Linked DNA regions of Homo sapiens: all the other regions are linked to region 7. Evidence: promoter capture Hi-C in 16 types of primary human blood cells and fetal thymus (Javierre and others, 2016). All regions are on one chromosome and are shown on one strand. The core of a region is centred on a gene start or on the middle of the fragment in contact, and the rest is flanking DNA. Distances in the headings are between cores, read along the strand shown.

Evidence for each region. Contacts are between HindIII fragments. The CHiCAGO score rates a contact against its expected background, and 5 or more counts as called.
Region 1: a fragment that was not itself captured here is called in contact with the fragment with the promoter of PLA2G4A in region 7 in 1 of 17 cell types (neutrophils); the score reaches 5.9 in neutrophils.
Region 2: a fragment that was not itself captured here is called in contact with the fragment with the promoter of PLA2G4A in region 7 in 3 of 17 cell types (monocytes, neutrophils and megakaryocytes); the score reaches 9.8 in monocytes.
Region 3: a contact is called between a fragment that was not itself captured here and the fragment with the promoter of PLA2G4A in region 7, in 1 of 17 cell types (neutrophils). The highest score is 7.2, in neutrophils.
Region 4: a fragment that was not itself captured here is called in contact with the fragment with the promoter of PLA2G4A in region 7 in 1 of 17 cell types (monocytes); the score reaches 6.2 in monocytes.
Region 5: a fragment that was not itself captured here is called in contact with the fragment with the promoter of PLA2G4A in region 7 in 1 of 17 cell types (monocytes); the score reaches 5.4 in monocytes.
Region 6: a contact is called between a fragment that was not itself captured here and the fragment with the promoter of PLA2G4A in region 7, in 4 of 17 cell types (monocytes, neutrophils, megakaryocytes and 1 more). The highest score is 12.0, in monocytes.

The regions. Positions count from the first base shown.
Region 1 is chr1:186,496,634-186,500,180 of GRCh38, reverse strand. No RefSeq gene overlaps it. Among named protein-coding and RNA genes, the nearest start is that of PDC, 37 kb to the right of the region's middle. The HindIII fragment of the contact is 725 bases long and covers 1,836-2,560 here.
Region 2 is chr1:186,407,289-186,410,709 of GRCh38, reverse strand. The region is part of intron 12 of ODR4 (odr-4 GPCR localization factor homolog); the gene reads right to left. Among named protein-coding and RNA genes, the nearest start is that of PDC-AS1, 26 kb to the left of the region's middle. The HindIII fragment of the contact is 3,306 bases long and covers 267-3,421 here.
Region 3 is chr1:186,435,664-186,439,169 of GRCh38, reverse strand. PDC-AS1 (PDC antisense RNA 1) reads right to left here. Exons shown (of 5, transcript NR_126002.1): 2 at 2,597-2,812. Among named protein-coding and RNA genes, the nearest start is that of PDC-AS1, 2.3 kb to the right of the region's middle. The HindIII fragment of the contact is 3,661 bases long and covers 239-3,506 here.
Region 4 is chr1:186,383,022-186,386,367 of GRCh38, reverse strand. It overlaps ODR4 (odr-4 GPCR localization factor homolog), which reads right to left. Exons shown (of 14, transcript NM_017847.6): 3 at 3,212-3,346; 4 at 285-380. Among named protein-coding and RNA genes, the nearest start is that of ODR4, 8.9 kb to the right of the region's middle. The HindIII fragment of the contact is 3,219 bases long and covers 151-3,346 here.
Region 5 is chr1:186,516,972-186,520,255 of GRCh38, reverse strand. No RefSeq gene overlaps it. Among named protein-coding and RNA genes, the nearest start is that of PDC, 58 kb to the right of the region's middle. The HindIII fragment of the contact is 5,903 bases long and covers 1-3,284 here.
Region 6 is chr1:186,477,360-186,481,016 of GRCh38, reverse strand. No RefSeq gene overlaps it. Among named protein-coding and RNA genes, the nearest start is that of PDC, 18 kb to the right of the region's middle. The HindIII fragment of the contact is 2,361 bases long and covers 967-3,327 here.
Region 7 is chr1:186,827,151-186,830,626 of GRCh38, reverse strand. PLA2G4A (phospholipase A2 group IVA) reads right to left here and starts at 1,678. Exons shown (of 18, transcript NM_024420.3): 1 at 1,592-1,678. The HindIII fragment of the contact is 13,801 bases long and covers 1-3,476 here.

The DNA.
Region 1 (3,547 bases), core at 949-3,448, 330 kb after region 7:
AACTAGTCTAAGCCTTCAAACTTTATCTTTTAGATATTTTTTCCCAAGTGACTGTAGGTGATAACTCGCCTAGCCTCATTATCACAGGGCATCATATTTGATATCTCACCCTTCCCTCAGGATCTTTGTCCTGAGATTCCTCATCACGATGTCCCTTGCTTAAAAGCAGCAGAAACTGACTTTACTGTAAACAAAAGAGAGTCTATTAGAAGGATATGGGCCTCTCAGAGAAGACAGGAAGTTAGGGGACCAGAATTGATATGGGAAAGAAACCAAGGGAACTCTGGAAGACAAGGGAAAAAGAAGCAGGAGATAATAACTATCTTAGAGCTGCAATAGCGGTTGCTTTCATGAAAGACTTTTGGCTGTTCTCTCTGTCCTTGTATCACTTGCTCAGACCTCAAAGCCTTGGGGAAAACTTTCCAATTAGTGGAGCTTAAATCACAAGCTTACCAACTAGCATTTCAAAGAAGTGGGAAAGAATTGTTCTGACCCATTAAAGTTACAGGCAGAGGTGGGCCTGAAATTCCCTCCTAACACAATTATACACAATGGGAGAAAGGTAAATCCTCAACTAAATCAGTTCTACTAGAAAGAAGAATAGATGCTAATCAACACCACCACCAAAAAAAGATAGTTGTTTGCTAGAAAGTGAGAAAAGGAGAGAGTAATATGGTCCTTAACAAAAGAGAGTTTTATAGCTTCCTTATGTTATTAGGTTATTATAAGAACACAGGAAGTATTCACTTATCAAATGCATTTCTTTCATGCAGGGTCATGTAGTTGAAGACACTTTAGAATAATACAAACCTTAATTCAAACCAGGGTCTGTCATTAAGTGGATGCTTTGGGGCAAGTTCCTTAACCTTTTTGCATCTGTTACCCCGAGAGTTGTCTAGGGGATTCTGAGTTAATATGTATAGAATGCCTGACACGTATCCTGCACTAAATAAACATTAGTTTTCATCCCCTGTGTATTATTAGTCAGGGTTTGTCAGAGGAACAGAACTAATAGAATGTGTGTGTGTGTGTGTGTGTGTGTGGTGTGTACCATAGATAGATAGATAGACAGATAGATAGATTTATTTTATATATAAAGAGATTTATTTTTAAGGAATTGGCTCACTGAGAATAGAGGCTAAAAGCCCAAAATCTACAGGGCGGGCCAGTAGAGACCCAGAGAAGGGCCAGTGCTACAATTCAAGTCCAAAGGCCATCAAGCTAAAGACTTAGGAGGGAGCCAGTATTGTAGTTCAAATATAAAAGTAGCTACTTGCAGAATTCCATCTTGCTCAGGGGAGGTGAGTCATATGTTCTATTCACGCCAACAACTGATTAGATATGGGCCACCTTTATCATGGAGGGCAATCTGCTTTACTCAAAGTTCACAAACTTAAACATTAATCTCATCCCAAAACACCCTTATAGAAATATCCAGAATAATTTGTGACTACATATCTGAGTACTGTGGCACAGCAAGTTGACATATAAAATAAGCCATCTCACCCTAAGAGATGTTATTATTCCACAAAATAGTCTGTCTTTTTCTGGATTCAGCAAAGCACTTCATATTCTGTTAAAACTAGTTGGGAAAAAGGTGCCTGAGACTGGACCTATTGTAGTGATAGGGGTGGCAGGCGTGAGATATGAAATAGCAGTTCCCAGAGGTCAAGTACTCAAGTTTTAGAAAAGGCTCACTCTCAAGGAGTCCTTTGCTATAGCAAGAAAAAGGTATGGCTAGACTCCAAAGAAAATGGTAATATCACCAACACCAACTTCTATCAGCAAATTTTTAACCTGATTTAAAAAAAAAATGAGCTCATTATCTGCAAGCTTGTGACTGAAGAAAACAAATGGCTTTAGGTAACATGGCACATACCAAGAGATGAACAAATATTTACAAACAAGATTCTCATGAAACACGTTCCCCAGGCTGAAAAAGCAGGTAGGGTTCACAAGAGGCTCCTGGATGACCGCTGTAGTTGGACTGTGTCTCCCAAATTTCATGTGTTGGAAACTTAATCCGCAATGTGACAGTGTTGAAAGGTACGACCTGTAAGAGGTTACTGGATCATGAGGGCTCTTTCCTCATGAATAGATTAATGCATTCATGGATTAATGAATTAGTGAGTTATCATGGGGGAGGAGCTGGAGGCTTTCAAAGAAAAGGAAGAGAGATCACAGCAAGCGCATTAGCACATGCCTCCCTATTGCCATGTGATGCTCGGGATTCTTCATGGTACCCACCAGAAAGAAGGCGCTCAACAGATGCACTCTCTCAACCTTGGACTTCTCAGGTTTCATAACTGTCAGAAATACATTTCTTTTCTTTATAAATTACCCAGTTTCAGGTCTGTTATAAACCACAGAAAATGGTCTCATAAAATGACTATGCTGAGGCCACTAGTGCTTTAAGAAGCAGCTACAGGCCAAGAAGGAAAAGATTATCCAGACCTTGTCCAAAAAGACAGAGATTAAGAAATAAATCTCCTCCTCTTTTATCTGTACCTAGTGGCTTCATCAACAACAGATGATATTTAGAAAAAAAAAAACCCAAGCTTTTATCGGGGGGAAATGATTAAGGCAAAGAAACAAAATATCTAAGAAATTTAATAATATAAGTGATCAAAATAATACCACTAAATGAAAATTAATGTAATATTTGAATTTAACCATATGAAATTGCTATTTTTTTTTTTACCAGTTTTAACTTATGAAAATGGCAATTTCTTATGCTTCTGTTTAATATAAGAATAAGAGGCCAGGTGCCATGGCTCGTACCTGTAATCCCAGCACTTTGGGAGGCCTAAGCAAGCGGATCCCCTGAGGTCAGGAGTTCAAGACCAGCCCGGCCAATGTGGCAAAACCCCGTCTCTAATAAAAATACAAAAATTAGCCAGTGTGGTGGCAGGCGCCTGTCATCCCAGCTACTCGGGAGCCTGAGGCATGAGAATCACTTGAAACCTGGAGGCGGAGGTTGCAGTGAGCTGAGATCCTGCCACTGCATTCCAGCCTGGGAGATAGAGTGAAACTCTCTCAAAAAATAAATAAATAAATAAATAAATAAATAAATAAATAAATAAATAAAAAGAGTCAACGCCGGCACAGTGGCTCACTCCTATAATCCCAGCACTTTGGGAGGCTGAAGCAGGCAGATCACTTGAGCCCAGGAGTTAGAGACCAGCCTGGCCAACATGGCAAAACCCTGTCTCTACTGAAAATACAAAAATTAGCTGGGCATGGTGGCACACACCTGTAATCTCAGCTACTCGGGAGGCTGAGGCACAAAAATCACTTGAACTTTGCAGGCGCAGGTTGCAGTGAGCCGAGATTGCACCACTGCACTCTAACCTGGTAAGAGTAAGACCCTGTCTCAAAAAAAAAAAAAAAAAAAAAGAAAAGGGTTAAGAGTCAAGATGAAGCAAACAGGCAAATCCTGTCCTGTAAGTTATATCATCATTCCAAGTCCAAGGGAATATAGTCGATAATTGTGAAAGGGAAGCAGAATTAAATATTTTAAATGCTGACAATTCAATAATATAAAATC
Region 2 (3,421 bases), core at 670-3,169, 420 kb after region 7:
CCAAAACTTCGTTACTGTATATTATAGATTACTGCTAATGCCTATAATAGAGACTTTTTTCTGATTAAATTATTAACCAAATCACTGGAGACCCTAAAATTCTGATCACTAATCTTGATGGAGTTCTTAGGTACTCTTAGGACCTTACTACATTCTCTGCATAACTAATCACGCATATACATTCTATCTTTCCTCTAGGCTTCTAAAGGAAAGGAATCAAGTTATTGATTCATATCTATTATATTGTCTTGAACAGAGCATAAGCTTAATAAACATCTGATAAAGAGACATACTAAATGCTGTAAACTAGATTAAAATTTCTGGGGCAACAACTAGTGCTACATATTTTCATATAAAAGACATAATTTCATGTCTTAAATGTTCAAAACTCCTGAAAATGTTCTGAACTACTGAGCCATACAGCTATGAATATTATAGACTTTTTAAACCCTCAACATGTTCAATATACTATACTACACAAATCTTAAAAACCTTGTCTGTACAGGCATAAGCTAATAATTTCTCAAGTATGAAATAAATGTGAAAACAAGAAGTGCTGTAGTTTCCTAAGAATCACTTATTCAGTATTTATGAATCAGTAACAAATAATTAGGAACACCTACCATGTTTTAGGTACAGATAAATACTCTACTTACTCTCAAAAATCTTATAGTCTAATGTGAAAGATCAACATTAAATATGCAATTGATGATTTAAATAATTACAAGTATGTAAAGTATTATAGAAGAACAGCATAGAAGAGGGAACTACAAGAAAGTTTAGTGAAGGAGTTTACCTAGTCTGAACAAGTCTGAAGTTAGTAAAAACATAGTATCTACACAGACATTTTTTTAAAAAACTCTATTGGCTGGCCTTGGTGACTAACACCTGTAATCCCAGCACTTTGGGAGGCTGAGGCAGGCGGATCACAAGGTCAGGAGTTAGAGAACAGCCTGACCAACATGCTGAAACCCCATCTCTATTAACAATACAAAAATTAGCTGGGCTTGGTGGCACGCACCTGTAATCCCAGCTACTCAGGAGGCTGAGGCAGGAGAATCGCTTGAACCCGGGAGGCAGAGGTTGCAGTGAGCTGAGAATGCAACATTGCAATCCAGCTTGGGAGACAGAGCGAGACTCCGTCTCAAAAAACAAACAAACAAAAATCTACTTAGCTCCTTGAAGACAGAATCAGCATTTTGTTGTTCTTTGGACTCTAATCCATAGGACAAAATAAATAATTTATTCAGTCAACAAATATCTACTGAATACCTATGACATGCTAAGGCTAAGCTCTTAGTAAAGTGCTAGAAACACAACAGTAAGCAAGAGAGGCAAAGGCCCTTTTTGCTCTTTCAACAGATGTTTGCTGAAATGCACATGTAACGGTTTCATGAGAATTTGAATTTATTGGGTTTTAGTTTTGGTTTTGGGAGGCTGTCATGCCAGGTTGCCATAGTTACCTCTTAGGAATACATTACAGTGGTTGAAGCTACTTAATTTTTTTTTTTTTTTTTGAGACAGGGTCCTACTCTGTCACCCAGGCTGAACGGCAGTGGTGTAAACACGGCCCATTGAAACTTCTACAGCTAATTTTTGTATTTTTATTGTAGAGACAGGGTTTCACCATGTTGCCCAAGTTAATTTTTTTTAATGTCTTAGCAATGTAAAGAAAGAATATAAACCTCTGTTACTAACTGTTTGTTAAAATATTAACTTAAAAAGAACTGAATAAAACAGTCTTAAACTAGTCTATATACTTGTGTTTAACATACAACATGAAATTAAATGAGTTAAAAATACTTAAGACAGAAATATTTTTAAGAATTATTTAAAAAACCTAGATGAAATGACTCTCTCTTCCTATTCTTTTATATCTGACTTTTAAAGTAACTTGTGAATGGGGCAAGTTTTGCATACAGTGCTACCCTTAGTCATTCTTAGTTTAAGAATGTGAGATGCACAAGAATGTGACAAATAATTCAAAAAATTATATATAAACATGATATATTTTATATTTTTATAAGAAAACAATACATTTTTGTATATTGTTTATATTATATATTTTATAAACATATTCATATAAACATATAAACATGTTCACATATATAAACATTTTTGTTTACATACATACACAAATTGTTTATATTACATGTTTATGTATGTATATGTTTATATTATATATAAACATTATATATTGTTTATATGTTTATATAAACATAAATAATGAGATCCAAGATTCCAGCCAACAAATGAGAAATTATATTGACATAATCTAGATGAAATTAAACCAAGATAATGTAACATCATCCATTTACACTTGAAAATGTTTAAAGGGATGGAATGAAGAACGCCAGGCTAAAATATGTATCTATATCATGGAAAATAATCATACTATACTTCATTATTTAGCTCCTACACAAAGGCAGTAAAATAAAATTTTTAGAAAAGAAGCACAGACCCTAAAACCAAACTGCCTAAGTTTAAATTCCAGCTCCACCATTACGAGCAATGTAACTTTGAAAAGTTACCTGGCCTTTCTGAGCCTTAATTCTCTCATCTGGAAAATAGGATTAATAATGTTATTTACATCACAGGGTTGTTACAAGGAATGATAATTTAGTATTTGTAAGACTCTTAAAACTGTGCCTGGCAGATATATAAATAATGGCTATATTATTTTTAGAGCATTAGCTTCGTCAGGGTAACATATTTCAAGGAAGGCAAATCAGAGTATATTTAAGAAGTAATTTTTAAACTCTTTGAAAGCGATAGACCTTTTCTTCAGAAAAAAAATCATACAATTACTTTCAAGTGGTTTGTGGATCTTCTAAAAGTTCAGCTCTGACACCAGAGGTTTTGAACCCCACAGGTTAAAAATTCCTAATCTACCGGAAAGCAAACAAGGTGGTAAGAAAAAAATGTGGTCTGGAAACTGTAATAAAATGAACAGCTTAAGGTAGGTGAGAATATATGGCTTTGAAATGTTTAGAACATAATAGTTGCTCTCAAATTTAAAGCATGGTCTCAGTGAGGAAGTGGTACTCATGTTTTATTGCTGCATATTACTGAAAGAATAGGTTACAGGGAGGCAGATTGGTATTTAGAATAAAGAAGAATAGAATCTGAATCCCCATCTGCTAGGGATGTAGTTTTCAGTATTAAGAGGTTAAATTAGGTCAATTTGAATGATCCTACCAACATTATAAGATCTATTCAACAACAGAATGGCTCAAGAACTATTGCTAGGCCTTAACGATAGAGAAGTGAACAAAACAAACAAAAATCCCTGTCCTCATGATCCTAAGTTTCGTTGGCAGAGATAATGCAGTCACTAACCAAGGAAAATAAATTTTGGAAAGCAGTAAACATTTTTACCAGTCTACTTTCAAAAAGCAGATACTTTCCATCTGCTACAGTT
Region 3 (3,506 bases), core at 820-3,319, 390 kb after region 7:
ATCTGGGCTGGAGTGCAATGATGGTATGATCTCAGCTCACTGCAACCTCCGCCTCCCAAGTTCAAGCGATTCTCCTGCCTCAGCCTCCCGAGTAGCTGGGGTACAGGCGCCTGCCACCAAGCCTGGCTAACTTTTTTAGTAGAGATGGAGTTTCACCATGTTGGCCAGGCTGGTCTCGAACTCCTGACCTCAAGTGATCCACCCGCCTCAGCCTCCCAAAGTGCTGAGATAACAAGCTTGAGCCACCGCACCCGGCCCTCTCAATTCTTTTCTACCAAACCACACGTTGTTTAAGACCTGCAATTTCTCAGCCTTGCCTGTTTGACACTGCCTTTCTCCACTTTCCCTGTTTCTATCCTTCCTGTGCAGCCTAAACACTTGACAGATGTCATCAATCACCTTCCTGCTGGCACTTCCCCCATTTTTATCCCTTTATTCTTCCAAAGCACTTATCGTTTAAATCCCCAAACTTCCAATCATTTCAACCATCTGATCTCTCTTTTCCTAACTACTAGCTGGTAAGTCCTACTCAACAAAATTGTATCTTCCTCAAAATTTCATACATATATCAACCAATCAGTGCTCTTCAACTGGGGTCCATAGCTTGTTCTGCAAACAGATCCCTCTTCCGTTTCCCACAGCAGCTATTCCAAACCTTCATTATTCTCCTCAGTCTCCCTCTCCTACATCCTTAAACGACCTTCTTTCAACATCCCAGTAGACACTGAGCCCACCAGGCATGAACTTCCCTAATTTCTTACCCCACATCTATTAACTCAGCTATTTTCCATTTTATTGTTCTCAAAGATGTGTTTCTATGTGAGACTAATATTGTCATCTGTGCTTTTAATTGGATTATAATACATTCAAATTTCTTTTTTATTCATATTACAGTTCTATCCCCTCCATGTTTTTTATTCACAACCTAAAAACAACTTTCTATCTCTTATTTAAAAACTTGTCTTGGTTCTTCCAAATTATTACTACCTATTGTCTCCAGTATTTTCCTTCTCTTCTTCATTCCCAAAACTCCTTGCAAAAACAAACAAACAAAAATTCAATTTTTCTTATTTAATCTTCTTCCTTTCTTTCCATTTATTTTTCCACCTATCTGCCTCAACTATTCCACTGAAAGTGGTTCTGATACAGATCAGCAATGACCTCTGTGTCAGGCACGTCCCTGGAAGGAAACAACACAAACAGAAAAGGTATGATTGAAGGGAGTTTAAAGAAGACTATTTGCACATGTATGTTTATTGCAGCACTATTCACAATAGCAAAGACTTGGAACCAACCCAAATGTCCAACAATGATAGACTGGATTAAGAAAATGTGGCACATATACACTATGGAATACTATGCAACCATAAAAAATGATGAGTTCATGTCCTTTGTAGGGACATGGATGAAGCTGGAAACCATCATTCTCAGGAAACTATCTCAAGGACAAAAAAACCAAACACCACATATTCTCACTCATAGGTGGGAATTGAACAATGAGAACACATGGACACAGTAATGGGAACATCACACACCAGGGCCTGTTGTGGGGTGGCGGGAGGGGGAAGGGATAGCATTAGGAGATATACCTAATGTTAAATGGCCAGTTAATGGGTGCAGCACACCAACATGGCACATGTATACATATGTGACTAACGTGCAGATTGTGCACATGTACCCTAAAACTTAAAGTATAATAAAAAAAAAAGACTGTTTACAAGGGTCTAGGCAGGAAACTAACAAAAGATAGTGAAGCACCACCTATTAACAGGTGAAAGTGACTCCTACCCACAGGCCTGGAGGGGGCAAGAAACCAGTGAGACCTGCAGCTATAGGAAAAAGCTGCCCAACAGGAGCTTTTGCTTTTGGAAGAGAAACACTGCCCCTGTCACTCTGTGGCCCAGGAGGGACAGAGCTTCAGGGAAAAACAACTTGCACTCTCTCCTCGTGCTCTTCTATCTCTTTTCAGAACCTTTCATTGTCAGAATCCAGCTGAAAGCCAGAGGACAAGAGAACCCTGTTGATGAAGTCTGTTAAGTCAACCTTCTCTAGGGATAAAACAGGATGGAGAAAGATAGAACGTGAATTTTAAGAAGCAAATGGAGAATATCCAATACACCACCTAACCACCAAGCCTGTTAGACTCAACAGTCCTCATCTTACTTAACTTTCGGCTACATTGAATGCTGATTACCAATCCCAAATTGAAATTCTTTCCTCACTTTGGTTTTCATAATACCACTCTACAGATTCTTCTCTGCTTCTGTGACCGGGGGCATGCATGCTCCTTGTCTATTGGTGTTTTTCTGGATTAGTCTCCTCCCTCACACTTCAGATGCTGTTATTCCCTCTGACGACTTCAGGTACCATCTACACCGAGGCTTCTGAAAATCACCACTGTTTACATTTTGGACCAGATAATTATTTGCTGTGGGGAGTTGTCTTGTGCATTATAGTATGTTTAGCAGCATTCCTGGCCTCTAACCAGTAGATACTATTAGCATCCCTCCCTCAGTTGCAACAACTAAAACTATCCTCAGACATTGCCGACTGTCCTCTGGAAGGTAAAAATCATCCCCAGGAAAGAACTGCTTACCTCTACATACAGAATATGTATCTTCTGTCCTGAGTTCCAGGCTGATGGAAACTTAATTACCATCATCTGTCTCCTGGACAATTGCAATCATTTCCTAAGTGGGCTCCACAACTCCCAGTTTTCATGCTCACATCAGACTGATCCAAAAAAGACTGTGAATGTGTGAGGGAATCCCAAGGCTGTCAAGCCATGCAGCTGAAAATATTCTTAAAACATCTACGAGACACATGAAAAGAAGTGGAATTGTAAGAGTTTTTGACTTACACTCTGAAACATTTGGGGATGTAGATGCTCTTCTTGATGACCTATGACTTGTGGGAGTGAAGTAGCTCTGTACAGAAATATTGTACCTCCCATTACAGGAAAAGATATTCTTTCAGAAGAAAGTAAACTCAACAGCAGCATTTCTCTAGTCAATTTTCAAAAGTTTGGTCTCTAACTGGAAGTTTAAAACGTGAAAAGAGTATAATGACTAAAATGGTACGAACATATATTTAGATAAAAATATGCAGGCTCTATGACAAAACAGTTATCTTTTACAACAATTGGATTTGAAAAAATTACACACACAATACACACACACACACACATATATTATATACACAAACAATAATCATTTTAACTTGACTTTTCAAGATAGGTGCTACTGCAGTAACTCCTGTGCTTTTAATAACAAAAATTTGAAAAATCATTTAAGAACAAATACATTTGTCATAGGTAGTTGTTTATATGCCTTGCTATGAAAATAAAGTACCTCATGAATAAGTTAGATATTGCATTCCTGAAACATATATAAAAGTCAAATACTATGTATGTTCATAATTACTAAAGAATTGATGTAAAGACAGTATAATCCATGCTGTGGAATAGCTTTGTTGCACCAAAGATAGCCAACATTTTTATGATGTGT
Region 4 (3,346 bases), core at 511-3,010, 440 kb after region 7:
CATATGGGCTGATGATAGCCCTGTTTTGGGTAGTGTACTAAATAAAGAATAAAATTACCCATGGAAAAAATAATAAATAAAATGTGTAGTTTTTAAAAATATAAACATTTTTTACACTCAAGATATCCAAGCAATTGAGTGACAAAAGCTTTTTCAATGTAACCCCAACAAAAAGAATTATGGAAAACAAATGTAAATATGCCTAGAATCATTACACATACTCATAATCAGTAAAAATAACATATAACTGATTTCATTAAGAATTTTCGATATATCAAACTTACTCTACGCAGGGCATTTTGAAAATCATTTGCCAGTTCTAAAGTAGTAATAATAAATACTCCAAGAACTAAAAGTCCCCCTGGTAGCATTCTGGATACCTAAAAATAGAAATATATTATTAGCTAACAAATTGGCATTATATGCAATCCTTTCTGTTTGAGAAACTGTCTGCTTAGCATGTCCTTAGCTTTTCACCTTAAAACTACTTTATAAATAAAACTATCTGATAACAACATCCTTTAGCTACATCAATAAATAAATCCTTTTCTCAGGAGATCAAAGACTGAAATATTTTTTCAATGGCGTCCCACCATCAGCTAAATAAAATGAAGTTTTATTTTAGATTGATATTTCAGACTTTCTAGGATCTGGTCAATGATGTTTATACCCTCATTTGACACTACTTTTCCTCAAGTAATTCAAATATTTGTCAAAAACTACTTGAAAAGTAGTGTCAAATGAGGCTATAAACTGTTTTCCATACACATCCTAGGCTTTCTAACTATGTGTCTTTACTCAGGGTGTTCCCTAGGCCGAAACTGACTTTTTCTTATACTTCTGCATGTCTCAACCCTACTGGATACTTCAAAGGCAGCTTGAGGAAGCTGCCTTCTCTGATCTTTTCATCTCTGAACTCCGACAGGGCTTTGGTGTAGTTTTCCCATGGATTTTATCACATAGTCTTATATCATAGTTATCTGTGAACCCTACTAGTTGGTCAGGGAGCTCCTTAAGGGAATAAGTAATTCTACCTCTGTATCCCTATTTTTAGCAGCATACTAGATCTGGAATTTGAACAGAGGGAGTCTGACTTGAAAATCCATTATTTTCTATTGCATAGATTAACCTCAAATTTTTAAGCCCACTTACTGATACTGGGCATCTTTGCTATATCTAATTTTACCTTAAAATAATATTGATTAAAAATCCTAGTACATCTTTCTGCATTCATAGAATTATTTGTTTAGGACAAATCCCTTGAGGTGGATAACTGGTTTAAGAAGTTATACATATTTTTAAGGTTTTTGATACATACTACCATGATATCTCCATATCTGTATTTCCCTTCACATGATTGTGGCTAGTTCTTAATACCACATGGATTTTTTTCTATCATCTACACTCAGAGATTAGAGTGTTTTGGTTAGCTTTTGATTACTTAATGTACAAGCAATCAATCAGAGTACAGTCTTAGAAAATTAGGTACCATGCTCTAATCCTTAATCTACTTGCACTATGTCTTTCGGTGTTTTCCTCTGATTTAATAAATTCTATTTACTATAGTAGCACAATTCTGACAAATAAAGTTTTCATATTTAGCATAAGGAGCCTGCATATCTTTTCAAAATCACCAACACAAAAAAGTAACCATTTTTTAGGAGATGGAGGTGAGAGCAAGAAAGGGGAAAAAGTAAAATTAACCTTTTCTTTCTAGAGGTAAAAGGTTAAGCTAATTTACTATATAAATTCATTAATATTCTGTGTGTGTGTGTGTGTGTGTGTGTGTGTGTGTCATATACAATTTTATGAGAGACCAAAAGCAAAATTAGAGTAGAAAGTTATTTACAAACCATTGGGAATTTAACTTTACATTACTTAATATTTTCTTTAGAAGATAGTTGCCATGTTTGTCCCCTTAAACACCATGTTGAAATGTGAACCCAAGTGGGGCCTAATGGAAGGTGTTTGGGTCATGGGGCAGATCCCTCATTAATGGCTTGGTTCCATCCTCAGAGCAGTGAATGAGTTCTCGCTATATTTGTTCCTACGAGAGCTGGTTGTTAAAAAAAAAAGCCTAGCACCTCCCAACCCCTTGCTTCCTCTCTGGCCCAGTGATCTTTACACACCAGCTCCAATCTGCCTTCTGACATGAACAGAAGCAGCCTGAGGCTTTGACCAGATGCTCAATCTTGCAGCCAGCAGAATCATGAGCCAAACAGGCCTTTTTTTCTTTATAAATTACTCAGTCTTAGGTATTCCTTAATAGCCACCCAAACAGACTAAAACAATAATAATTAAATACTGGATTTCTTCGTTTTGTTTTGTTGAGACAGAGTCTCGCTTTGTCGCCCAGTCTGGAGTGCAATGGTGTGATCTTGGCTCATTGCAACCTCCGCCTCCCAGGTTCAAGCAATTCTCCTGCCTCAGCCTCCCAAGTAGCTGGGATTACAGGCACCTGCCACCACACCTGGCTAGTTTTTCATATTTTTACTAGAGACGGGGTTTCACCATGTTGGCCAGGCTGGTCTTGAACTCCTGACCTCAGGTGATCCACCCACCTTGGCCTCCCAAAGTGCTGGGATTACAGGCAAGATTTTATTTTTTTTTTAAATATAACTACACACTGCTCCATAATCAAACACATACACAGACACAAATATATGTCCATATATATATATATATATATCTACATACACAGAAACACGTTTGAGTTTAAAAGATTTAAAGATTTAAAGTTGATTGGAAAAGGAAATAAATCTTTTATTTATTAAAGAAAATTCTTTTTCTTAAAACAAACAAACAAAAACGCAGAATGTGCAAGTCTGTCACATAGGTTTACGTGTGCCATGGTGGCTTGCTGCACCTATTGACCTGTCCTCTAAGTTCCCTCCCCTCACCCCCAACCCCAGAAAAGGAAATAATTCTATTTTTACCTTATTCTAACATTATTTATTTGATGATATATAATTCATTCAATAAATACTTGTAAGTGAATTAATTTAGTCATTATTCCCACTCACCCATCCCAAATCTGTTTCTTCCTCGTGTAATGCCAACAGTATCCTCCTAGACACCCAGACTAAAAATCTCAGTCATCTTTAGCTACTTTCTCCCTATGTCTCTTCTCTCTACTCATTCACTAAATCTTCTTGATTCTAGCTCTTTTTTGAAATAAAACTTAAACATATAAACAAAAAAATAAGATAACCTGGCAGGCATGTTCTGTGGCCCATTCTTCATCCAAGTTATCCAACTTAGCTTTGGGATGTTTGAGGTTCTCACTTTGCTCCTCTTTGGGTGGCGTTCTAGTGGCAAGAATCACATAATCCTTTTGTGACGAACA
Region 5 (3,284 bases), core at 221-2,720, 310 kb after region 7:
CCTTTATGTGCACCCTGATAATAAATAATGTTTGCATATACTAGTTCTACTGTGGCATTGGGAATTCCCAAGCAGTTTGTTATTGAAGTTACTCATGAGTCATAGTGGAAGGACAAAGTTTTATAGCAATCATGGCAGATCCAATTAGAAAAAGTAACATATGTGACATTATTGACTAATTTCCTTAAGGCATTTTCATTCCAAGCATTTATAACTGATATAACAGTTAAAAAATTAATAACACAATCATTGTTTATTATAATTTTGTTGAGCCTTTTCTAACAAATATGCAGCAAAAATCTCACATAAATGTCAACAGTTAACACAACCTCCATAGCAAATTTTCTGCTTGTTGTACTATACAACTAGTCACTTCAAAGATTTGGTAAGTTGAAGGGTCAGTTTTCCTGTTGAAGTTGATGCCCTTGGGGGTTGGAGTGCTTTCTTAAGGTGTGAAATATGGATCCAGGAGTTTATTTTCTGTAATTTGGAAATACAAAGATTAGTTAACAACACTTGATAAACTTCATCTCATCAAGTTTCCAGAGAAGGTTTGGATATAAAGTACTTCTTATAAACAAAGTCTCCTGATTAGATATGATGTAGTGTGTCATCATCTCCTAGAAGCTCTTTCATAAAGCATCATTTACAAGTTGATAGTTACAATTCACTTGGGTGATTAGTCCTTTGCATTACTGAAGTACTGGTTCTTTAATAAGGATGGAGTCAGAACGAACTAAGGGTGATGGCATAGGTATGCCTATAACTATCTCATAAGAGGCTAGGTGATGTTTTTTTAAGGGGATAGCTCTCAGATTCATCAATACTAATGGTAAACAGTTTGGCAAGGCAATTTAATCATACATATATTTTCCCAATTGGGTTTTTACTATTCCATTAGTTCTTTAAATGAATCCTGAAGATTGTATGCACAATGAAAGTACTAAAATGTAGGTTATGCCTTGCCTATAGTTGGAATTGGAGACTCTGTCTCATGAAATGTGTATGCTGGTTTCTGTGTAACTCTTTAGAAACACCTCAAAGAGGCGTTATTTTTTCTAGTAACACTTTCACTACTGCCATGGCAGTTGCTTGATGACAAGAGAAGGCTTCTGCCCAATTTGAATACATGCAGACCATAACCAAAACATATTTGTAATCTCAAAAGGGAGGTAACTGGATAAAATACAACGGAAATACTTCAAAGAGGGCTTCTAGTAGGTCAAATTTTCCCCTTGAAACTTTTATGGGTTTTCCCAGGTTAAACTTTGGACACGTTGTACATGTGTTACTTACCTGTTCTGCCTCAGAACAGAATTTTCCCCACCAATATTGTTTTGTTTATGCAAACATTTTATCATCTGTCCAGTGAGCTAAATCATGGAGTTTTTCTAACAAACACTTTGATAACGTTTTAGGTAATATAGGTTTTTTCACTGAGACCTTTCCAGAGATCCTTTTGTGTATTTAAATAGTAGTCTTGTTCTTTCATTTATTAATCTAACTGACAAATGCATGTTGTTGTGTATGTCTTGTTATAGTTTCCATGGATTCCTCAGGGGGCATAATGAGAGAGGATGCCAGGGAGGTCATGGGGCATACATTTACACTTAGTTTATAACAAAACCAGGAGTCATAGCTGCTCCTATGATCAGCTAATGCATTTCCTTTTGCCTCTTTAGTATCTTTAGTGCAGTGGGCTGGCACCTTATTTATAGCCATTTTCTTAGGTAATTGAATGGCATTTAGTAATTCATTAACTAGAGCACCATTTTTTATGTGATGTCTGGATGAAGTTAAAAACCTCTCTATTCAGACAAGACCATAAGAGACAGAGAGAGTGAGAGAGAGAGAGAGAGAGACCTCTCTGTTTCCAAAGCATTCCAAAATTATGGTCAACACCAAAAGTCTGTCAACTATCTGTGTGTGTATATGTATATGTATATATATATTTTTTTTTTTTACAGTGTGTTTTCTGGCCAGAGTGCAGGCCCAAATTATTGCCTATAATTTAGCTTGCTAAACACTCATATATGAAGGAAGAGTCCCACCATCAACTTCATGTTCTTTTGAGGCTATAGCATACCTGGTTTGTAAATCTCCATCCTTGTTTTTTAAGTCAGAAGCCATTTGTAAACCATCCAAAATCAGCATTTTTTAAACTGTAATTATTTTAAATCAGGTCTTGATATGGTTATGCGATGGTTAATATTGAGTGTCAACTTGATTGGATTGAAGGATGCAAAGTATTGTTCCTGGGTGTGTCTGTGAGGGTGTTGCCAAAGGAGATTAACATTTGAGTCAGTGGACTGGGAAAGGCAGACCCACCCTCAATCTGGGTGGGCACCATCTAATCAGCTGCCAGCATGATCAGAATAAAAGCAGGCAGAATAATGTGAAAAGACTAGGCTGGCTTAGTCTCCCACCCTACATCTTTCTCCCATGCTGGATGCTTCCTGCCCTCGAACATAGGACTTCAGCTTTGGAATTCCGACTGGCTTCCTTTTCCTTAGCTTGCAGATAGCTTATTATGGGACCTCACCTGGTGATCATGTGAGTCAATACTCCTTAATAAACTTCCCATTATATATGAATCTATCCTATTAGTTCTGTCCCTCTAGAGAACCCTAATACAGGTTATGTGATTGGTATAGGCTGCACAATCACATTCTAAAAGGCTTGTAATCCCAATGGTTAAACATCAGCAGTATTAAGACTGGTGGTTTTAAAGAATTTTATATTATGTGATGAGAGAAAAGTAAACTCATTGTGTGAGGGGGCTTGTAGATAGATTATGAGTATGTTGGGAATTTAAGAGAGTCTCAACAAAATGTGGAACATAAAGGTTTAAGACTTATGCAAAATGCTCTCTGATACTGCCTTGACCATAAGGTAAGTGGCAGAGATAGTATCAGAGAGAGGATAGAAAGGACTGAGCAAGTGGATCAAGTTTCTCAGAGAAATAGTCAAGAGGTCTCTGGCTATTGCCATGTTTCTAGGTTAGAATACCGAAAGCATGCCCCTACTTTTTATACACATATTAATTAAATTCTAAATCATAGTTAGGATATCCCAAAGTAGGGGGAAAGCAGAATGATGTTTTTAAAAAATTTTTAAAAACTTCCTCTATCTCTGTTATTCATTTTATTTATCAGGACTTCCCTTTAATGAAGGGATTTAGCTAAAACAGAAAACTCGGGTATCCGTTACCAGCAATATCCAACCAATCCCAAGAAATCTCGTAACAATTGAGAAGTTTTAGGTTTGCGGAATTGCTGGACCCC
Region 6 (3,657 bases), core at 898-3,397, 350 kb after region 7:
TAACCAAAATAATGTGCTCCCAGATAAGGAAGAGATTTTTACAACTCTCAAAAATCTAAGTCCAACCTTCCCAAACTGTAAAAACAAACATTAGAAAGTTTACCAAGTAAGTGATCATATAAATTTTTTTTCCTTATCTCTGAGAAAGCAATTGTTAGTTGGTTCTTTTCTGGTGAACTCTTTTTCAGGTTCATGCTTATTTGTAATGTAATAGCTCTTCTTTCCACAGGAGACATCTTTCAGTATCTACACTCAAATCTCCTGTGGAATCACTTGTTTCTGTCAGTGATTACAAACATATAAAACAAACATTCTGAGATCCCTTTGAATACCTCCTAAGTAGGTAGAATTTAAAAATTTAAGTAAATTTTTCTCTTTTTGTAACGAGGAAAGACCTCAAGGAACAGCAGGAATACAAATTTAGACATGGAGGGAAATGGTATTCGATTCCTTAAACGGCTCTAGTGTCTGAACCAGGGTAAAGAAAGCAGCCACAGCTGGTGGAGCTGCTCCTTCCAGTAAAGGCCAGTGCAGAGTCCTAAACTGGGTTCTCTTTTAGTCTTTGACCTTTTTTTCCCACTCAGAAGACAACATACTTTAGGTGAAGGATCAATTTTTAGTTTTCAATCCCTAAGGATGATATTCAAAATATTTTCTTAAAAAAAATAGGGCAACATGGTGCTCTGTCTTCAGAACAGATTCAGGATATAAGCAACAGTATTTACTTACCATATTGTTTCCTCTACCTCTAGCTCCATTTCAGTGTCATTTTTCATTCTTCTTAGTTTTCTATTTTAGTAAAATTTAAATACCATAACTTAAAGTAATCCCAATATTTTTTAAATAAAGCCAAAATATGTGTTGTTTATAACTATGGCAAAGAACATAATTTAGTTTAAGCTTCACATAGTCATGTAGCTACATAGAATATTTTAAAAAGAAAATCAAACAAGAATCTTACAAGCTTGACACCATCAACATGGTGAGTTAACATACAAATTTCCTGAGGTGCTGATCACATTTGAATTGCACATTTAACATATTGAAAGATATTAAGAATTTTAAGGTGGAAAACAAGAAAATATATAGTCCATATGTAAGGAGGAATACTATATCTCAGATGTAGCAATATTACTAGAAAAATAGCTATATATAAGTAATAGGAATAAAAACCCATGTGGAATCAAATTAATGTCCACATCTTGGTCCCAACTTTTATTGGCTCTGGGATCTTGAGCAAGTTACTCAACCTCTCTTAATCTGTTTCTTCATCAATTAAATTATAATAATAATGCTCCCTCCAATCAGTTTATTGTGACAATCACAATGAAATCATGTCAGTGAAAGTATTTTGTAAATTATTAAAAGTAATCCAAATATTACCTAATTAAGCATTAAAATAACAATAATATTATTAAGCTAAATCCTAAGACAGTTTCAGATTCCCTCTAAGAAAAGTTTTCTTTATGAACTATTCTTTAAGGTACTAGATGTGTGATAACAATGTAAAACTTGACAAATGGTTTAGGGACTAACACTGGATTAAAAAGGCAGGTGGGCTCAACAATCTCTCATCACCATGACTGCAGCTTTGCACTTCATCCTTGAAAATTAATGTTATTTATAGATAAAGCTGCCCAGTTAAATCTCACAAGAGGATTACAAGACTGCCAATTAAGACGAAGCCCCAGCAGGTGGGGTTTATGTGAGCTGATAAAACAGGTTCTGGCAAAGCACTTGCAAAAGTGAATTCCACAATCACTGACCCTCCCATACCGTATTCTTTATTTAAAAAAAAAAAAGAACAAAAAATAAGAGCTGATATTAAATAGACAGATTTAGGTTAGAAGAAAAAATAAGAGCCTGGTATTAAAGGATAGATTCCACCTAAAATGCTCTGTGGGTTATACAGAGAATATATGTGTTCTATATACCTAGATTTTGAAAATTGCTAATACTAAGAATTCAAAAGGCAATCTGAGGTTTTCAAGGGTATCTCGATGTAAATTATATTTGTCAATTATAATAATATTCTTTTACATACAATATTAGATTCTTCATTTATGCTTCAGGCCCAAATTTCCATTTGTATTTAGGGCATCTCTCCCTGGGCTACCCAAATGTACTTCATATCATTATGTTCAGAATCCTCTTTGTTCCCGAACCTCCCTCATGAGGGTTTGATCTCAGTGAATAGTATCACTCAGTGATGCTCAGTGACTAATATCATCATCTTTGACTCCTTCCTCACCCCTCTCCCACCACTGTCATTAATTAATTCATCCCTTTGGCTTCTATCTCTGAAGTGTCTTTTGTATTCATTCATTCCTCTGTTCCATTGCTTTTGCCACTACCCTTGTCCAGGGATTCATCATATTTCAACTAAACTATCTGTACAATGTCTTAACTGTTTTCACTGACTCTTTCACCTTTCCAAATGTACTTTCCACATTCCTGACATAGAAATCTTCTAAACAATAAGGCAGTAAGATTAAAACTCTTTAGCAAGGTAGTTAACAAACTAGGGTATATCTTTTAGTCTTATTTCTAAATTGATGTCTCCACAAATTCTATTCCCTAGTTCCACCACACACTATAATAGTCACCCTTCCCTGAATACTGTACTTCATAGTTCTGGGCTTTTAGTTATATCATTCCCTGCATCTAGAAAATCCTCACTCCCTTCTCTAAATACTAGCATGCATTTATTTTTAAAAATCCAGTTCAGGTACTATTTTCTCCACCTCTTTTCATTCAAGCTGCACCCCAAACTAAAAATTCATCACTGCTTCCTACACTCTTACAAAGCCCTGTTTATATCCCTAAAAGAGGACCCTTCTCACACATGCATATTGTTTTCTTACTAAATTGTAAGTCCAAACACTGTAAGCATGTCATTTTTAGCTTGGTATCCCCTATGATTTTTGGGTGTGTGTGTGTGTGTATGTGTGTTTTATCCATAAGTAGCTCATTGCATGTTCACTAAAAATAACGACTACCCTTAAATGAGTGCTTATTAAATATCAGACTCTATCTCCCACCTTTTACACTATGTTAATTGAGTCATTTAATCCCCAAAATAAATCTATGAAGTAGCTAAATTTTACATGTAAAGTAGCAAATGCCCTACGAAGTTAAGCAACTTACCCAAGGCCAACACTAGTCTGGTGTCAGGACAGGAATCAAGGTCTTTCATAATTAATACCTTCTGCCCTCAACCAATTCATTACGTAGCCTTAAACGTCTATCTCTGGGTAGTCAAATACAAAAAAACTATAGTGGATTAAAAGGCTATATATGAACACTGACTGAAAACATAGAGAAGCTTTACTCTAGAGCATTGGTGCCTAAAGGTATTATGGCTAGAATTCATAAATGTAAACTCTGTTTAAAGAATACTATTTCCTACCTCATAAGACTATTTTGGAGAATAAGTGAAATGCAGCATGTAAAAGGCCTAGCACAGTACCTGAAACACAGTAGGAGCTGAAATATTAGGTTGGTGCAAAAGTAATTGCAGTTTTTGACATTAAAAGTAACATGTTCATATTATTTTCTCAGTTGTGAATAGTATAGAAATTATACCCAGACTTATTTCCTATATCACAAAATCCCAGGGCAAGGAGATGTGCTTTCAATGCATAGTGGCCTGAGTGT
Region 7 (3,476 bases), core at 429-2,928:
TTTTTTTTTTTTTTTTTTGAGACAGAGCTTCGCTGTTTTCGCTCAGGCAGGAGTGCAATGGCGCGATCTTGGCTCACTGCAACCTCCACCTCCTGGGTTCAAGCGATTCTCATGCCTCAGCCTCCCAAGTAGCTGGGATTACAGGCACCTGCCACCACGTCCGGCTAGTTTTTCTATTTTTAGTAGAGATGGGGTTTCACCACGTTGGCCAGGCTGGTCTCGAACTCCTGCCCTCAAGTGATCCACCCGCCTCGGCCTCCCAAAGTGCTGGTATTACGGGCATGAGCCACTGCGCCCAGCCAGAATAACTTACTTTTTAAAAATATGTTAAAAAGATGCAATGTCTTATCTCAAAAAATATGCTTCCCCTAAGGGAAGTTTGTAAAACTCCTTTGAGCAAATGCACATTAAACACTTCTCTATGCATTTCACAATTATTGCTTAATTTAAAATTTAACTCTTCCGGAGCTAATGAAAGAAGTAAATACCTGTTTCTTATCCCAACCTCTAACTTGATTGGCAAGGTGTAGGAACCTGTAGAATGTAACTTTAAAATTCTTAACAGAGCTTGTTTCACTACAGTCCTCTACAAATATCCCTTGAGCCACAATTCTAAATTTAAACAACAAAGAGAAACAAAAATACAAATCTTCTTTGAACTCAAATTATATTGGCAAATATAACTTTAGAATTGACACCCATTCAGACAGTACGCCTCTAATACTCTCCATCTGCCTTAGCTGAATAAATGCTGACATCATCAACCCATATGAGGAGTATTTCTTGTTCTGGTTTTGGAGGTGAATTTATTTTTAAGACTAAAATGATTATAAATTGTAGGAGACAGATACATTCATCCACTGATACTTTAAAATCAAATACCTTTTTTTTCTGTTTTTTTTGGAAACAAAATTACTGAAATATCCACACTCAAAATTTAACTATGTAATTTGATCAAATCTTTTCTAGTATCTAGTTTTGAGATTTTTTTTTTCTCTTGGCAAGCCAAGTAACTTAGGGGAAGGGTGGATCATCAGAACACCAGTCCGTTTACAGTTAATTTTTCAATAATCCTCTTTCTTTCGCATAATTCTGCAAAATATTGACTAGCCAGGAAAGCGTCCCATAAGTAACAAAAATGACCAATTTTTAGAAATTAAAAGTTAAGTGAGTCAACAAAGTCTCTCGCTAAAGATCGCTAGGGCTGTCAAACAGCACAGCATGCTGCTGCTCAAGTTTGGGGATCAGTAACCATTGGGTGTCATCACGTGGAACGCTAATAAGCGCCACCTCACCGCCGTTTTGAATGCTAACTTTCTGGGATTCCAACCCAAAGAAACACCTTAATCTTTGACTCCACAGTGCATTTAGATCCAGGAAGGCAAATCTGCGTGGGTTTGAAGAAAATTGAGGTCCCTAATCTGTGTTTCACTTCAAAAGGCAGAGGACATGCTGACTTTTTAAAGCAGCGAGGTTTCCCCTCCGTCCTTTCTTCCTTCCAAGTAAACTACCAAGTAAAAGCTAAGGAGGGTGGGAGAGAGAAGTGGAGCAGAGGAAGAATAAATATATTGCTTACAGTTCCCAGAGTTACCTGAGAATCTTCAGGCTCCTCAATGCCTCTAGCTTTCAGTCAGGATCCTTTTTCAGCTCCGGACTTAGAGAAAGTCTTATCCTGAGTAGGAGGGGCTAAAATGTGGGCTGGTCTCCTTGCGCTTTTGCAGATGTTTTAAGGTGGAATTAAAGGGGAAGAGGGAGAACGCTCTCTTCTCATAGAAGCTAATATTGTAAATGTAAATGCTTAGTTATTAGAACCAGGAGTTTGAAGTCAGAAAATATGCTTAAATAATATGTAAATTAATCAGTCCTAAATTCCATGAGTGCTGTTGTGGATTTCTGTGTGTGTGATGTGTGTGTGTGTGTGTGTGTGTGTGCGTGCGCGCGTCTGAAATTGCTACTTGTCCTTAAGTAGTAACTACTTCCTCCTTTTTTCCAAAGGAGAACAAAATTGAAAAGACAGTGAATAACCTAGAGCATTTTTGCATTATTTAAAAAGGCAAAGTTTATAACAAACCCCAAATATAAAAATGTACATTTTTAAAAAATGAGTATCAGACCACTTTAAAAATCAAATCTGTTTAAATATTTCCACTCCAGACTCAGAACACCTGTGTTGATAATAATTTCTTTGTAAATTTAAGATTAAAGGCATACCAAATAATGTAATATATATGTTGAGATTTAGGGAAGAAAATGAAATCAGGTTGAATTCCAAATTTGCAGTGTAAATCCAAATACCTTATAGCACTGTAATGAAGAAGGTGCATTGTTTAAATGTACCCAAATTCCATGAGAATCAATTCATGTCTTTAAAGATTGACATGTTCATTTAGTATATCTTGTTTTTCAAACACAGGATCTTGTTTTTGCCTTTAATTAAATACTGAACTCACTCTCCTAACTCTCTTACAATATTTTCAAAGAATATAATTTCACTAAATCTTCTGGAATATCTGCTTTCTGTAGCCCAACATTCAACTCTTATTTGTTTTTATTTTTTTCCCCTAAATTCAACCTGGCATATTATAAATCTCTCTTTGAAAAAAAAAAAAGCCAGTAATGTCTTTTTTAGGAAGGATAGATTTATAATAAACATTTTTCGGGCTGGGCACGGTGGCTCACGCCTGTAATCCCAGCACTTTGGGAGGCCAAGGCGGGCGGATCACGAGGTCAGGAGATCGAGACTATCCTGGCTAACACGGTGAAACCCCCGTCTCTACTAAAAATACAAAAAATTAGCCGGGTGTGGTGGCGGGCGCCTGTAGTCCCAGCTACTTGGGAGGCTGAGGCAGGAGAATGGCGTGAACCCGGGAGGCAGAGCTTGCAGTGAGCCAAGATTGCGCCATTGCACTCCCGCCTGGGCCACAGAGCGAGACTCCGTCTCAAAAAAAAAAAAAAAAAAAAAAAAAAAAAAAAAAAAAAAAAAAAAAAAAAATTTCTCTTTCCAAAGAAATCCCTGAATTTCTAGAAAGGAGGTGTATGTTAATTAGAGGAGCAGAGAGCACACTGGTAGTTTTCATCTCTTTCCCCCAGACACAACTGGTGAAAGAAAGAATCTATACTGCAGGGCATGTTCGTTCTAAGACTCTGATAAAAAAGACTCCCTGGAAAAGCAGCTTCACAGTGCTTGCTTATAGAGCACAAAAAAAGTGCTCTAGTGCTTTTTTGATAACAAAAAGTTATAGCTCTCAATATTTCCAGATGATATCCAATAGTGTGTCATGCATTAAAGATAAAAAATTTATTTAAACGCTTTTAAAGAAAATGTCATTATATGTCATGGTTAGGGTTAATATATACGGGGAGAAGTTTGTCTCTTTCCCGCCTTACTAAATGAAGCTGATTTATCTCCACCTTTATAATGAATAAAGGCTGCTGCAGGTATGTCTTTTCCTCTCTGGAATCAGTGCAGACCAAAT